Regions from separate parts of the Homo sapiens genome. Here region 2 is linked to region 1. Evidence: promoter capture Hi-C in 16 types of primary human blood cells and fetal thymus (Javierre and others, 2016). All regions are on one chromosome and are shown on one strand. Each heading gives the region's core, a stretch centred on a gene start or on the middle of the fragment in contact. The rest is flanking DNA. Distances are from core to core; before and after follow the strand shown. Region 1 holds the start of AGTRAP (angiotensin II receptor associated protein). Region 2 overlaps MTHFR (methylenetetrahydrofolate reductase).

Region 1 (7,644 bases), core at 1,986-4,485:
AGACCGGCCTGGGCAACATGGCAAGCCCTGTCTCTATAAAAAAAAATACAAAAATTAGCCAGTCATGGTGGTAGGTGCTTCTAATCCCAGCTATTCAGGAGGCTGAAGTGGGAGGATCACCTGAGCCCAGGAGGTTGAGGCTGCAGTGAGCCATGATCACACCATTGCACTCCAGCCTGGGTAACAGAGCAAGACCTTGTCTCAAGAAAAAAAAAAAAAAAAATCCTCCTTCTCCAAGGTGGGTCACAGAAACTAGAACCCGTGTCTCCAAAGTAGCCATAAAACCTAGAAAGGTGGCTCTCTCCCTTCTCTCTTTAAAGACCTCATTACAGAGGGGTTCTACCTCATACCCAGGAGGAAGGAATGCTGCATGGAGAGCCCAAGAAGAATCTGGACAAGACTTGTTCATTTTCTTTTTATCCAATTGCATTGCTACAGGGCTGTTCATTCTTCCTTGAAACTAAGCACAAAAATGGACAGATTTCCCAGGGCCTTTGAGTCTTCATCTCTGAAGCCTCCCATGTCACATGAAGCTTTGCTTAACTAAACTTGGTATGCTTTTCTCTTGTTAAGCAGTCTTTTTTTACAGGAGTGTCAGCTGTGACCTTTATGATGGGTGAGGAAAGGTATCACACCCTTCCGCCCCTACAGGGTCCTGTAAATGTCAGTTTAGTAAATGTCAGCTCTAATCCTAGGAGTTGTTTTGCGGTTTTTTTGTTTTTTTTTTGACATGGAATCTCACTCTGTTGCCCAGGCTAGAGTGCAGTGGCAGGATCTCGGCTCACTCCAACCTCCACCTCCCAGGTTCAAGCAATTCTCCTGCCTCAGCCTCCCAAGTAGCTGGGACCACAGGTGCACACCCCCATGCCTGGCTAATTTTTGTATTTTTAGTAGAGACGGGGTTTCATCATGTTGGCCAAAATGATCTCGAACTCCTGACCTCAAGTGATCCACCGGCCTCAGCCTCCCAAAGTGTTAGGATTACAGGCTTGAGCCACCGTGCCCGGCCTGTTTTTCATTTTCTCCTTACAAAGTGATCACAACTTTATTATATACCTAAAGGCTTGGATTAAATCCCTCTAGAATCTGGAGTGTATGGGAAATATTTTTTAGAAGGAAATTGATCAGGCTGCGCACTGTGGCTCACGCCTGAAATCCCAGCACTTTGGGAGGCCGAGGCGGGCAGATCACCTGAGGTCAGGAGTTTGAGACCAGCCTGGCCAACGTGGCAAAACCCTATCGCTACTAAAAATACAAAAATCAGCCGGGCATGTTGGCACCCACCTGTAGTCTCAGCCACTCAGGAGGCTGAGGCAGGAGAATCACTTAAACCCGGGAGACGGAGGTTGCAGTGAGCTGAGATCGCGCCACTGCACTCCAGCCTGGGTGACAGAGCCAGACTCCATCTCAAAAAAAAAAAAGATAATAATAACATAATATTCTAATATTGACTGCTTACTGAGAAATTACTCTCTTCTAAGTACTTTACTAATAACAATAATTAATTACCAATAATGAACTAATAATAATAATAGCAACCAGTCCTAAATCAAACTGGATGTAGCCATTTGGCTGGTCTCTAATTTACCCCTAGACTGGGGGGATCTGTGCCTCCTAAGAGGGCATTAAGTTAGGCCTATGGGCCCTGCAGCCCTGCAAAACTCTCCTCATCCATCCAGAGAAACCCTTTCTTTGCATCTGGAGAGACTATGGGTCTTGGTATTATCTAAGGACTCACCCAGGCAGTTTTGTAGGTTCCCACCTGGTTTCCCCCACCCTAGGAATAAGACCAAGTGCTCAGGTGTACCCTGAAGGTTTCCATACCTAGGTGACACTAAACAAAAGCTGGTGTTCTCTAAAGGAAAGTTGATGTTAGGAAGGGACCTGGAGGTAGAGCGGATTAATGTTCTTGTTGCGGTGGGGGGATGTGGTGGTCAACAATCTTTAAGGGAGGTGCCAGGTGAGGCAGGAGACAGCCCTTTCTTTCCTCATGTACAATTGGGGGAGGAATTTCTTATGGTTTTTCAGCTAGAGTTTTCTAAAACTTTTGGTATGCTGATTAAAGTGGGCTCCCACCAATTTGGCTCCTCAGGTGTTGCTTTTTGTTTGTTTGTTTTTCCCAGACAAGGTCTCACCCTGTCGTCCAGGCTGGAGTGTAGTGGCGTGATCTCGGCTCACTGCAGCCTCCCCGGTTCAAGCAATTCTCGTGCCTCAGCCTCCTGAGTAGCTGGGACTGCAGGTGCACACCACCATGCCCTGCTAATTTTGGTATTTTTAGTAGAGACGGGGTTTCACCATGTTGGCCAGGCTGGTCTCGAACTACTGAGTTCAGGTGATCCACCCTCCTTGGCCTCCCAAAGTGCTGGGATAACAGGGGTGAGCCACTGCGCCCAGCCTCATCTTGTGTTGGTAATAACAATAGCTTGTGTGTCCTGCCCATTTACTAAGTGCCGGGCACTGTTCTCTCCTAGAACAAACCGTAGTTAGACTCCTCTGAGTCCTCATCTTGACTAGGCCTCGGCCTTGGACCTCTGTGTCTTCCTGTCCTTGCTGGGCCTGAGCCTGCATAATAAACCAGTTTCAGCAAGAGTCCTGCTAAGTTAGCAAGAACTCCCCCATCCTTGATGTCTCCTCCTAGGAATCTTCCATTCCTGCTCCCTCATTCTGCTCTGGCTATAAATCCCTCCTTGGTCCTTGTTGTATTCGGTGTTGAGCCCAAACTCTCACTCCATGGCAATAACCCTACAGCAAGTCTTGAACAGTACTGGTTTAACAACAGTCCCAATAACGTTTTCTTTAACAACAGCAGTTAGCTCATTTAATCCTCATAAGGATCATATGAGGTAGGTAGCCTAAATAGCCCATTTACACAGGGAAGTGGGAAGGAGAGAGGGTGCCCCCAAGGATGAGACACAAGCTGTTGCCACATCAGCACTTTGCGCCTGGACGGTCCCCCAGTTGTCCTGGCTGCAGGCAGTCCGAACAGTCCGCTTCCTGGAATATTAGCCAGGCAGGATACGCCCTGGGCGACAGAAACTCCAACTTTCGCCAGCGGCCCCCAAGTACTGCCTGGGCGGTGGCGGGAGTCTGGAGCTTGGCTGAAGGCGCGAGCTGCCGACGCCGTCTCCTAGCAACCAAGCGGCGGTCACGTGACCCGCTCCAGCCCGTTTCACGTGGTCTTGAGCTGCGCTGGGGTTGGAGTGGCCGCAACGGGCGGGGCGGGGCGGGGCCGGGCAAGTTTGTTCCCCGAGTTCGGAGCCTAGGAGCCCCCCGCGGCTGCGGCGCAGGTGCCCTCGGCCTGAGTCGGGATGGAGCTGCCTGCTGTGAACCTGAAGGTGGCGACGGGCTGGGGGGAGGGTCCCCTTTGCGGGAGGAAGTGGGACATTTGCATTTTCCCGGAAGGTGGGAGGAAGGACCGGAGTTTTGGGGAAAGAGGGATGGTAGGGAGGAAGGGAAGGTACAGACCCCACGCAAGAAGGAGATGGGCAGGCAGGCCACAGCAGGGAGAGTGATCCAGGCACAGGCCAGCAGGGCGACACTGAGGGGCCGTGGGAGGTGGCAGCGGAGGGCAAGGGCCGCCCCCTCCCGGACTCAGACCCTCCCAGCGGGCAGCGCCGGTCCCAGCATTGCTGTTGCCTGCACGCCCAGAATTCCCCTGGAGGAGGAGGAAGGTGCGCGGGAGGGGCTTGTAGGCGGCTCACCTCCCCCGCGCGGGGTCAGGGACTGGGCTTGCCCCCCGGGTCCCAGCACCGTTTCAGGAGCCTCCTTGTTTGCTAAGTCGGGTTAAGGAAATCAGATGTTCCCAAGCAGTTGGTTTTATAAAGTTTACACATCCAGCGCCCTTATTTCATAATCAAGAAGCGCGAACTCCAACAGAAATTACTTAAAAGCAGAAAACCCCAACTTTGTGCACTGGGGAAAACACTGCAGGGCTTCCTGTGGTGTCTTCATTTCCCGAGCCGTGAGCTCAGTCCGGGTCTGGGTGCCAGCGGCTGTTCTTTTTCTCCCCGCCCAGCCCCGCCGCCCACGTGTCTGGGCTCCATTTGCATTAGAGGGGCTAGGGGCTGTAGTTTTGGTCAGGAAGGTGTGGACCTTGGACCAAACCGGCCATTTTGGGTCTTAGTGCAGCCTCCTTTGAGGCAATATCCAGGAATGTCCTCTTACTCATGAATGACAGAGCATTTAGCTCCCTGTTGGTGTCTGGGACTAAAGGAACCTGAGAAATAGATGGTTACAAAACAATGGCTTAATACACTTTATTATTACACAACATCTGTGCTATGACTTGCTATAGGCATGTTTCCCTTCTTAATCATACTTGCTTCAGCAAACCTTCCTGAAGCTTCCAGTCAAAGGTGGTGGGGAGACATGGCTGGAGCAAGGGAATGGGCTTGGATGGAACGTTCAGCTGGGAAGAAATTTACGTGACAGCAGCCGAGGCTTGTTGGTATCAATATGCACTCTATTCCAGGCAATGTGGGGTTAACACCAACTGCCTTTTCTCTGATGAGGGATTTGCTTAAAATAATTGCTGACAGAGGATCAGGTGAGGGCAGTGGGAGGGACAGAGCTCTAATTTATGGGCTTCTGTGGTGTGCCAGGTTATTTAATCAAGGCAGCCTTATGAGAAAGCTGATATGGTCATCTTTTTACAGATGAGCAAACTTCAGCTTAGACTGGGTAAATTGCCAAGGTCCCACGGGGAGTAAGTGGCAATATCAGGATTTGAACCCATAGGGATCAGACTCCAGGGCCAGGTCCTTTCTGGGGTACCAGCTTAGGGCTGACTTTAACGTTGGCTGTTTCTGTCCTTTGGGAGGGCTTAGTCTCTTTGGGGCTTTTTTTGAGCAACTTTTTGGGCCTGACAGGCTAAGAGCATCCACAGGTATGAGCTATGCTGGCTTTCGGTACCCAGGATGAAAAGGCTGGTCCTCCCCTTGACTTGGCAAACGAGACCCCAGTCTCCAAGGGTGTTAGCCGCTACCAGTCAGAGACAACAAAGTGCTGGAAGGCCCTGAGGGGTCAGGGTTGTCAGGTCGTGTACAGGAGATCCAGGTGAATTTGAATTTCAGATCAACAACGAACAGTTTTTTAGTATGAGTAAGTCTCAGGCAATATGTGGGACATATTAACAAATTATTCATGATCTGATATTGGAAATTAACTGGGTGTTCTGTATTTTTGTTTGCTGGATCTGGCCACCCTGTGGAGGGCAGCTGTTGACTCCTTGCTTATAGGCACTTAGGGGATGTTCTGAGTTCAGAGCCCTTCAGGAGGTGGGGAACTGCTCCCTGTGGCCTGCACTCCCTCCCCACTCCCTCGTTTTGTATATTCCTTGGGCAAGGGCTGAGTGCCTGCTTCTGCCCAGCTCAGCCAGAGTGGGCAGTGGTGCCAGGTGAGAAGAAACAACTGCCCCAGGCCCTTTGCACAAAGGGCAGCTCCTGACCAAGCCCTGTCCATGTCTCTTGAAGCCAGGTCCTGAGCTGCAAGAATGACATTGTGATGAGCTTAGAAAGGACTGGACTAGGGTACAGAGGTCTTGTGGGAAGAAGACCTTGGGAGGAGGATCTGGTGGTCTAGGAGGTAGTCGTGTAGCATTTGGGTTAAAAACTCAGTAATGAGGACTGCTGGGATGGAGGGCTGAATTCCTCACAGGCACTGTGTGGAGCGCTTCCCACACCTCTCCACCTCCCTGTACCACTGGATCCACACAACAACACTGAATCAGGCAGTATTGCCCTTCTTTGCAGAAGAGCCAACAGCTGTTCTGAGAGGTCAGGTGACTTGCCTAAGGTCACTAGGTTCTAAAGTCATGGAGCCAGGATCAGATCCACCTGTTTGCCTCCAGTACCCACGAAGTTAACCGCTGCACAACTCTGCCTCCCATCCTTGGCAGCCCTGACTGGTGTCCCTGGGCCCCGGCCACCCTGGGGGATCTCACTAGCACGTGTAACAGGCCACCAAGTGTTTGCACAGGACTGGTAGGAGTTTATTCCATTTCTGGGAAGTCCTACCCCGCCATGGGTCCTCTAGTGGCAAACAAAGGGTTTAAGTCTTGGTCTGCATGCCCTGCTGGTTTCTCTTCAGCCTTTCCTTCTCCAGGTTAGACTTCCTCATTTCCATCTGCCCTCTACGGCTCTTCGAGATCCTGACGGTGTAGCACAGTGGACAGAGCACAGGCTTTGGGGGCAGGCAGGTCTGCATTCAAGGTCTTGAGTAGGTTTCTGTGTGACCTTGAGTAGGTTTCTGAACTCTCTCAGTATCTATTTCTTCATTGTAAAAAGAAGTTAAATACAGTCCCTACCTCCTAGGATGATGGATCCATGGTCCAGGACGTAGTCTAGAATTAGGGTTACAAATTCAGGCTGGGCCAGGCGTGGTGGCTCACACCTGTAATCCTAGCACTTTGGGAGACCCAGGCAGGTGGATCATTTGAGGTCAGGAGTTCGAGACCAGCCTGGCCAACATGATGTAACCCCACCTCTACTAAAAATACAAAAATTAGCTGGGTGTGGTGGTGCTCGCCTGTAGTCCCAGCTATTCAGGAGGTTGAGGCACCGAGGATCACTTGAACACGGGAGGCAGAGGTTGCAGTGAGCCGAGATCGCACCACTGCACTCCAGCCTGGGCGACAGAGCAAGACTCTGTCTCAAAAAAACAAACAAAAACTCTGGCTGGATAGATTGATTCTGACATTTGTGTCTGGGCTCTGTTGTTTGTAAGCTTTATGAATTGGGCCAATTTACTTAATCTCTCAGAGCCTCAGTTCTACCCCATACAGTTACACGGATGACATGAGTTAGGGGCAGTGCAGTGTAGATGCATGGCAGGCTGGTGCTTGTCAGTAGCAGGAGTTGCTGCTGTCGTTGATGATGCAGGATCCCTGCCCCACATAGGTATTTAACAGTTAGTAAACGGATACTTACAGTGACCGTCCAGATAGATGCTTGTCTCTGGCAGTTGAGGCACCCCCGTGGGACAAATGGGTACTGCCTCCGTTTCGCAGAAAGGAGCCTGAGGCCTTGGCGCCTGGACCAGCACCCAGGTTTCCTGTTCCAGCATAGCATCCTGGGACCCTCTGCTGCCTTGGTCCATTGACCCCTGTCTGGGAAAGAGCTGGGCGGCCTCCCCTGGGCTGAGCACTGTAGTGAGAGTCCAGGGGCTCAGGTCCGTCCTTCCTGCCCAGCTGGGAAAGGTCCTGGCCCTGCCACCCGTTTAGCTCAGGTTCCTTCCCTGCTTCCAGCTCCTCTTTCAGGCCATACCTGAGAATCCTGTGTCTCTTTGGCTACCAGGAAGCTCCCCCAGGGCCAAAAGACAGTGGTTTTGTCCTGACAGTTACTGGCCCCTCTTTCCCTGGGCTGCCAGGAAGTGCAGGGCCCGTTTGGCTCAGTTTCTCCCTGGAGTCTTCCTGCACATTAAGGCCTCTCTGGGTGTCCTCCTGTTACACAGATGAAGAAACTGAGGCAGGGGAGGCTTAGGCTTCTGGACGTTTCTTTTCCCAGGGGCTTAAGAGGAGCAACTGGTGCTAACTTTGTTCATATTTATCAAACCAAAGTGACGTCACGCAGAGGAGACTGTGTGTGTGCTAAGGATCTGCAGTATTTCCAGGTTACGTTGTTTTCTTCCCTAACAGAGATGGCAGAG
Region 2 (4,788 bases), core at 1-2,500, 60 kb after region 1:
GGGATCTCTGGGCCACTGCCCTCACCTGGGGTCCTCAGTCCACATCCCCAGGCGCTTCAGCACCTCTGTGGTAGCCATCTCGCGGTTGAGGGTGTAGAAGTGGAGGCCTGGCACCAAGCCACTGGCCAGAAGCTCCTGGCACAGGCTCACGGCCAGCTCGATGCCATAGTTGCGGATGGCAGCATCGTTGTCTTTGATTGGCTCAATCACGTCCTTGATCTCCTGTGGCACCTCCAGCTTGGACAGCTTCACAAGCTGCCGAAGGGAGTGGTAGCCCTGTCCAAGACATGAGGGGCTGTGGCGGCTGCTGGCCAGCCCGTCTCCCACCCTAAATACTTCTCCCCCTTCCATCATCCATGCCAACCACAGTGTCAGGCAGAGGGACCCACGAAAGTCCGATCATATTCTAGGAGCACACCTGGGCTTGGCCTGCCGTTTTCTCCTCTTTTTTCTGTTTTTAGAGACTGAGTCTCACTGCTCTCAAACGCCAGGGCTCAAGCCATCCTCCTGCCTCAGCTTCTCAAGTAGCCGGGACTACAGGCACGTGCCACTATGCCCAGCTTTCCCACTTTTTACAGAGTAGAGCAGCTGCCCTAAGCATTCCAGCCTTGGGTTGAGCCAGCCTTTTAGCCCTAGATGTGTCTGTTGGTAACATGGTGTCATCTAACCCAGCTGTTCCCATGCTGCACTGATCATCCGAATCACCTGCCAAGCTCAAGAAGTAAAACACACATTCCGAGGACCTCCCTCAGATTTACTGAGTGAGAACCTCCAGGGGTGGGACCTGGAGATCCACTTTTTGAAAAAGCTTATCAAGTGGTTCTGATGACAGCCACCTTTGGGAAACACTGATTTAAGCAGGATTTGTAATGAGAATTAGAATCCCTTTTGGTGATGCTTGTTGGCCAAAGTACAACAAACCCCTCAACAGACACTGTTGCTGGGTTTTGGGGGGAAAATTAGAGGTAACCAAAATGGGGTGGCCAAGCAACGCTGTGCAAGTTCTGGACCTGAGAGGAGATCTGGGAAGAACTCAGCGAACTCAGCACTCCACCCAGAGCCCCCAGCCTGTGCGAGGACGGTGCGGTGAGAGTGGGGTGGAGGGAGCTTATGGGCTCTCCTGGGCCCCTCACCTGGATGGGAAAGATCCCGGGGACGATGGGGCAAGTGATGCCCATGTCGGTGCATGCCTTCACAAAGCGGAAGAATGTGTCAGCCTCAAAGAAAAGCTGCGTGATGATGAAATCGGCTCCCGCAGACACCTTCTCCTTCAAGTGCTTCAGGTCAGCCTCAAAGCTCCCTGCTTCGGGGTGGCCTTTGGGGTAACCTGCCAATAGGGATGACAGTCAGGAGAGGCTGGCCTCCACCTGTTCAAGGCGAGGGATGAAGAGACCACAGGGACTGGGCAGAGAGAGTCCTCTGCTTTGGGGGCTCTGATCTTGCACCTTCCAACAGCACAGCACAGCCTGAACTAAAACAGTGAGTGGCTGGGCTCATGACTGATATGCTTCTGACCCCAGAGATGACTCTCAGGGGAGGTGGCTCAGAGCCCAGTTCCAAGAGTGGGGGTGGATTGCTCCAAACTCCCACACTGTCCTGCCTTGAGCAGCCAAGCAAATCAGGCCTGCACTTGGTGGCCATAGAAAAGAGAAAATGCTACAGTTAGCACTGGCTGGGCAGCATCTGGGGTAGTAAGCTTGACTTTTCTCTAGGCACCGGATTAAACATTGTTTTTAATGTAACACTGAAATTACTCAGGGGTCCAAGATAGTGAAAAGCTAAAAACCAAGTTACACAAGGAAGAACTGAAGAAAGTGATGTTTTCTTCAAAGAAAATAATGGATGGCAGGGTGCGGTGGCTCATGTCTGTAATCCCAGCACTTTGGGAGGCCAAGGCAGGAGGATGACCTGAGGTCAGGAGTTCGAGACCAGCCTGGCCAACATGGTAAAACCCCGTCTCTACCAAAAATACAAAAATTAGCCAGGTGTGGTGGTGTATGCCTGTAATAGCTACTCAGGAGGCTGAGTCAGGAAAATTGCTTGAACCCACGAGACAGAGGTTGCAGTGAGCCGAGATCGTACCATTGCACTCTAGCCTGGGCAACGAGAGCGAAACTCCGTCTCAAAAAAAAAAAAAAAAAAAAGAATGAAAAGAATACAGAAACTCCTTTCAAATGTCCAAAGGTCTGTCCTGGGGAAAAAGGATCCACCATAGGTGAGTTTGTTTTGTTTTGTTTCAGAGACAGGGTCTTGCTCTGTCACCCAGGCTAGAGTGCAGTGATACAATCATGGCTCACTGTAGCCTTGAACTCCCGGGCACAAGTGATCTCCCACTTCAGTCTCCTGAGTAGCTTGGACTACAGATGCAAGCCACCACATCTGGCTAATTAAAAAAAATTTTTTTAATTAATTATTTATTTTTTAGAGATGGGGTCTTGCTATCTTGTCCAGGTTTGTCTGGAACTTCTGGGCTCAAGCAATCCTCCCACCTTGGCCTCCCAAAGTGCTGAGATTACAGGCATGAGCCACTGTACCCAGCCCCCTAGTGAAGTTCTTTATTAGTCATATTCTGTGTTGTTTCTAATGGCAGAACCAGCATCCGGTTCAGAGAGCTGGCTAGAGTACTATAAGCCACTCACAAAACAATGAGCTCCTGGAGTCTGAAAACACAGGGGCAGTGGATGCTGAAGACAAGATTCCAGAATTGCTTAGGAGGTGGGATCAGATGTCCCATAGGCTCCTTACTGGCTCTGTGAACTCTCTGACCCCTTTCCTCAATGACTAAACTTACTAGCCGCCTTGCTCGGTCAGGCAAGCAGGATGACCATAGGCCTTCATGAAACTACATGGAGTGCTGGTTTCATCAGCCCAAGCCCAGGGCAGGACTCTGAGCCAGGCGGAAGGCCAAGCTGCTTTGCTCTGATAAGGCAGTTCCGTTCTTAAGAAACCCAGAGTCATCAAAAAATGAATATAAAAACTATTGTTTCAAGGGGTAAGGGAGTGGGGGATAAAGCAATGGGGCTTCACACTTGCAATAACAAAGCTATTTTCCCAGTAGGAATTTCAGAAACAACAAGGCTTTTTAATAGCTGAAAAGTATAGCTACAATACCTAAATATCACCGAACAAATCTAGCATTTGATTACGTATAGATTTTGCTATTTACTCTATTTTTCTATCATGAACAGCTGAGGGCTTTCTTTTTTAAAATGTTTTTATTTTTTGTAGAGACACGGTCTCACTGTGTTGCCCAGGCTGGTCTTGATCTCCTGCCTCAGTCTCCCAAAGCTCTGGGATTACAGGCATGAGCTACCATGCCCAACAGGTTGGTGTTTTCTAATCCACTCATCTTCATTACCCACTTGATAAGCAAAGTAAGAAACCATTCAGCAACTGTGAGCTCACAGCTTCACTAGTTTCCAATCATTATCACCTAACGCCCATCACGGGTGCATATTCCCCCAGTAACTGACTATATAATGGCTGATACAAGCGATGACAATTTAACAGTTGGAAATGTCTGTTCTCTGACTCCTAATCAGTGCTTCCCAGACTTAGCACCTAAACACCCCTGTTGACAGAATGGACATGTCCATCGGGGGTTAGGGACAAGGCCAAAGTTACTCACAACATGTAATTTTCTTGAAGCCACGTGGTTTGTTTTTTGGGTTTTTTGTTTTGTTTTTTTTGAGACGGAGTCTGGCTCTGTTGCCCAGGCTACAGTGCATTGGTGCGATCTCGGCTCACTGCAAGCTCCGCCTCCTGGGTTCAAGCGATTCTCCTGCCTCAGCCTACCAAGTAGCTGGGACTACAGGCACGCGCCACCATGCCCGGCTAATTTTTGTATTTTTAGTAGAGACGGGGTTTCACTATGTTGGACAGGATGGTCTCAAACTCCTGATCTCATGATCCACCCGCCTTGGCCTCCCAAAGTGCTGGGATTATAGGCTTCAGCCACCGCACCTGGCCTTTTTTTTTTAGTTCATATCACTTTAGATGCTACTCCATAACATAGCCATGTTTAATATAAAAATGGTAGGATTTCTCCCAGAATATTGGCAAAAAAACTGTCATCCCAGAAAATGTGCCAATCCCGGGACTTCCTGTCCCTGGTGCACACTGTCTTGCCATACCTGAGCGCTGTCTGAGACGCTGAGGGCTCAATGCCAGCCTTCAGCTTCAAGGGTGGGAGAGAAGTCCAACCCACCCATTTCTGTTGGGGGAACCTGGTCTTGTGGCTGTGGCCAATGGTGATTCTCTTTCCTGGGAATTTGGAACGGAGGCCTGTCCATTAGCCTGGGGAACTGGCTGGAACTGACACTCTGCACACTCAGGAGCAGGCCAGGTGTGTGGAAAAGCATGGGTATCAGGTCTCCCAGATGAAGCACAGATGTGCAGTGGGAAGCGGAGATGGGGGACCCTGTGGCCCCAGAGGGAATGAGGGAGGGCCTTGCTTTTTGACCTCTTCCAGTGCCTTGTGAGGTCTGAGGCCATCTCCTGATCTTGGGTTCCCTGCCCTCTGGAATCCTGTTAGTAAATATCCCTCTTTTGTGGGGTGTTGTTTTTTTTTTTTTTTTGAGATGGAGTCTTGCTCTGCCACTGAGGCTGGACTGCAGCGGCACCATCTCGGCTCACTGCAACCTCCGCCTCTTGGGTCCAAGAGATTCTCCTGGCTCAGCCTCCTGAGTAGCTGGGACTACAGCCGTGCACCACCACACCTGGCTAATTTTTGTATTTTTAGTAGAGACGGGGTTTCGCTATGTTGGCCAGGCAGGTCTCAAACTCCTG

The links. The method cuts DNA at HindIII sites, captures the fragments that hold promoters and counts their contacts. A CHiCAGO score of 5 or more calls a contact.
Region 2: a fragment that was not itself captured here is called in contact with the fragment with the promoter of AGTRAP in region 1 in 1 of 17 cell types (erythroblasts); the score reaches 5.8 in erythroblasts.

The regions. Positions count from the first base shown.
Region 1 is chr1:11,732,901-11,740,544 of GRCh38, forward strand. It overlaps AGTRAP (angiotensin II receptor associated protein), which reads left to right and starts at 3,236. Exons shown (of 5, transcript NM_020350.5): 1 at 3,236-3,335. The coding sequence starts at 3,309. The HindIII fragment of the contact is 3,809 bases long and covers 532-4,340 here.
Region 2 is chr1:11,795,073-11,799,860 of GRCh38, forward strand. It overlaps MTHFR (methylenetetrahydrofolate reductase), which reads right to left. Exons shown (of 12, transcript NM_005957.5): 5 at 1,134-1,327; 6 at 26-276. Among named protein-coding and RNA genes, the nearest start is that of MTHFR, 8.5 kb to the right of the region's middle. The HindIII fragment of the contact is 888 bases long and covers 807-1,694 here.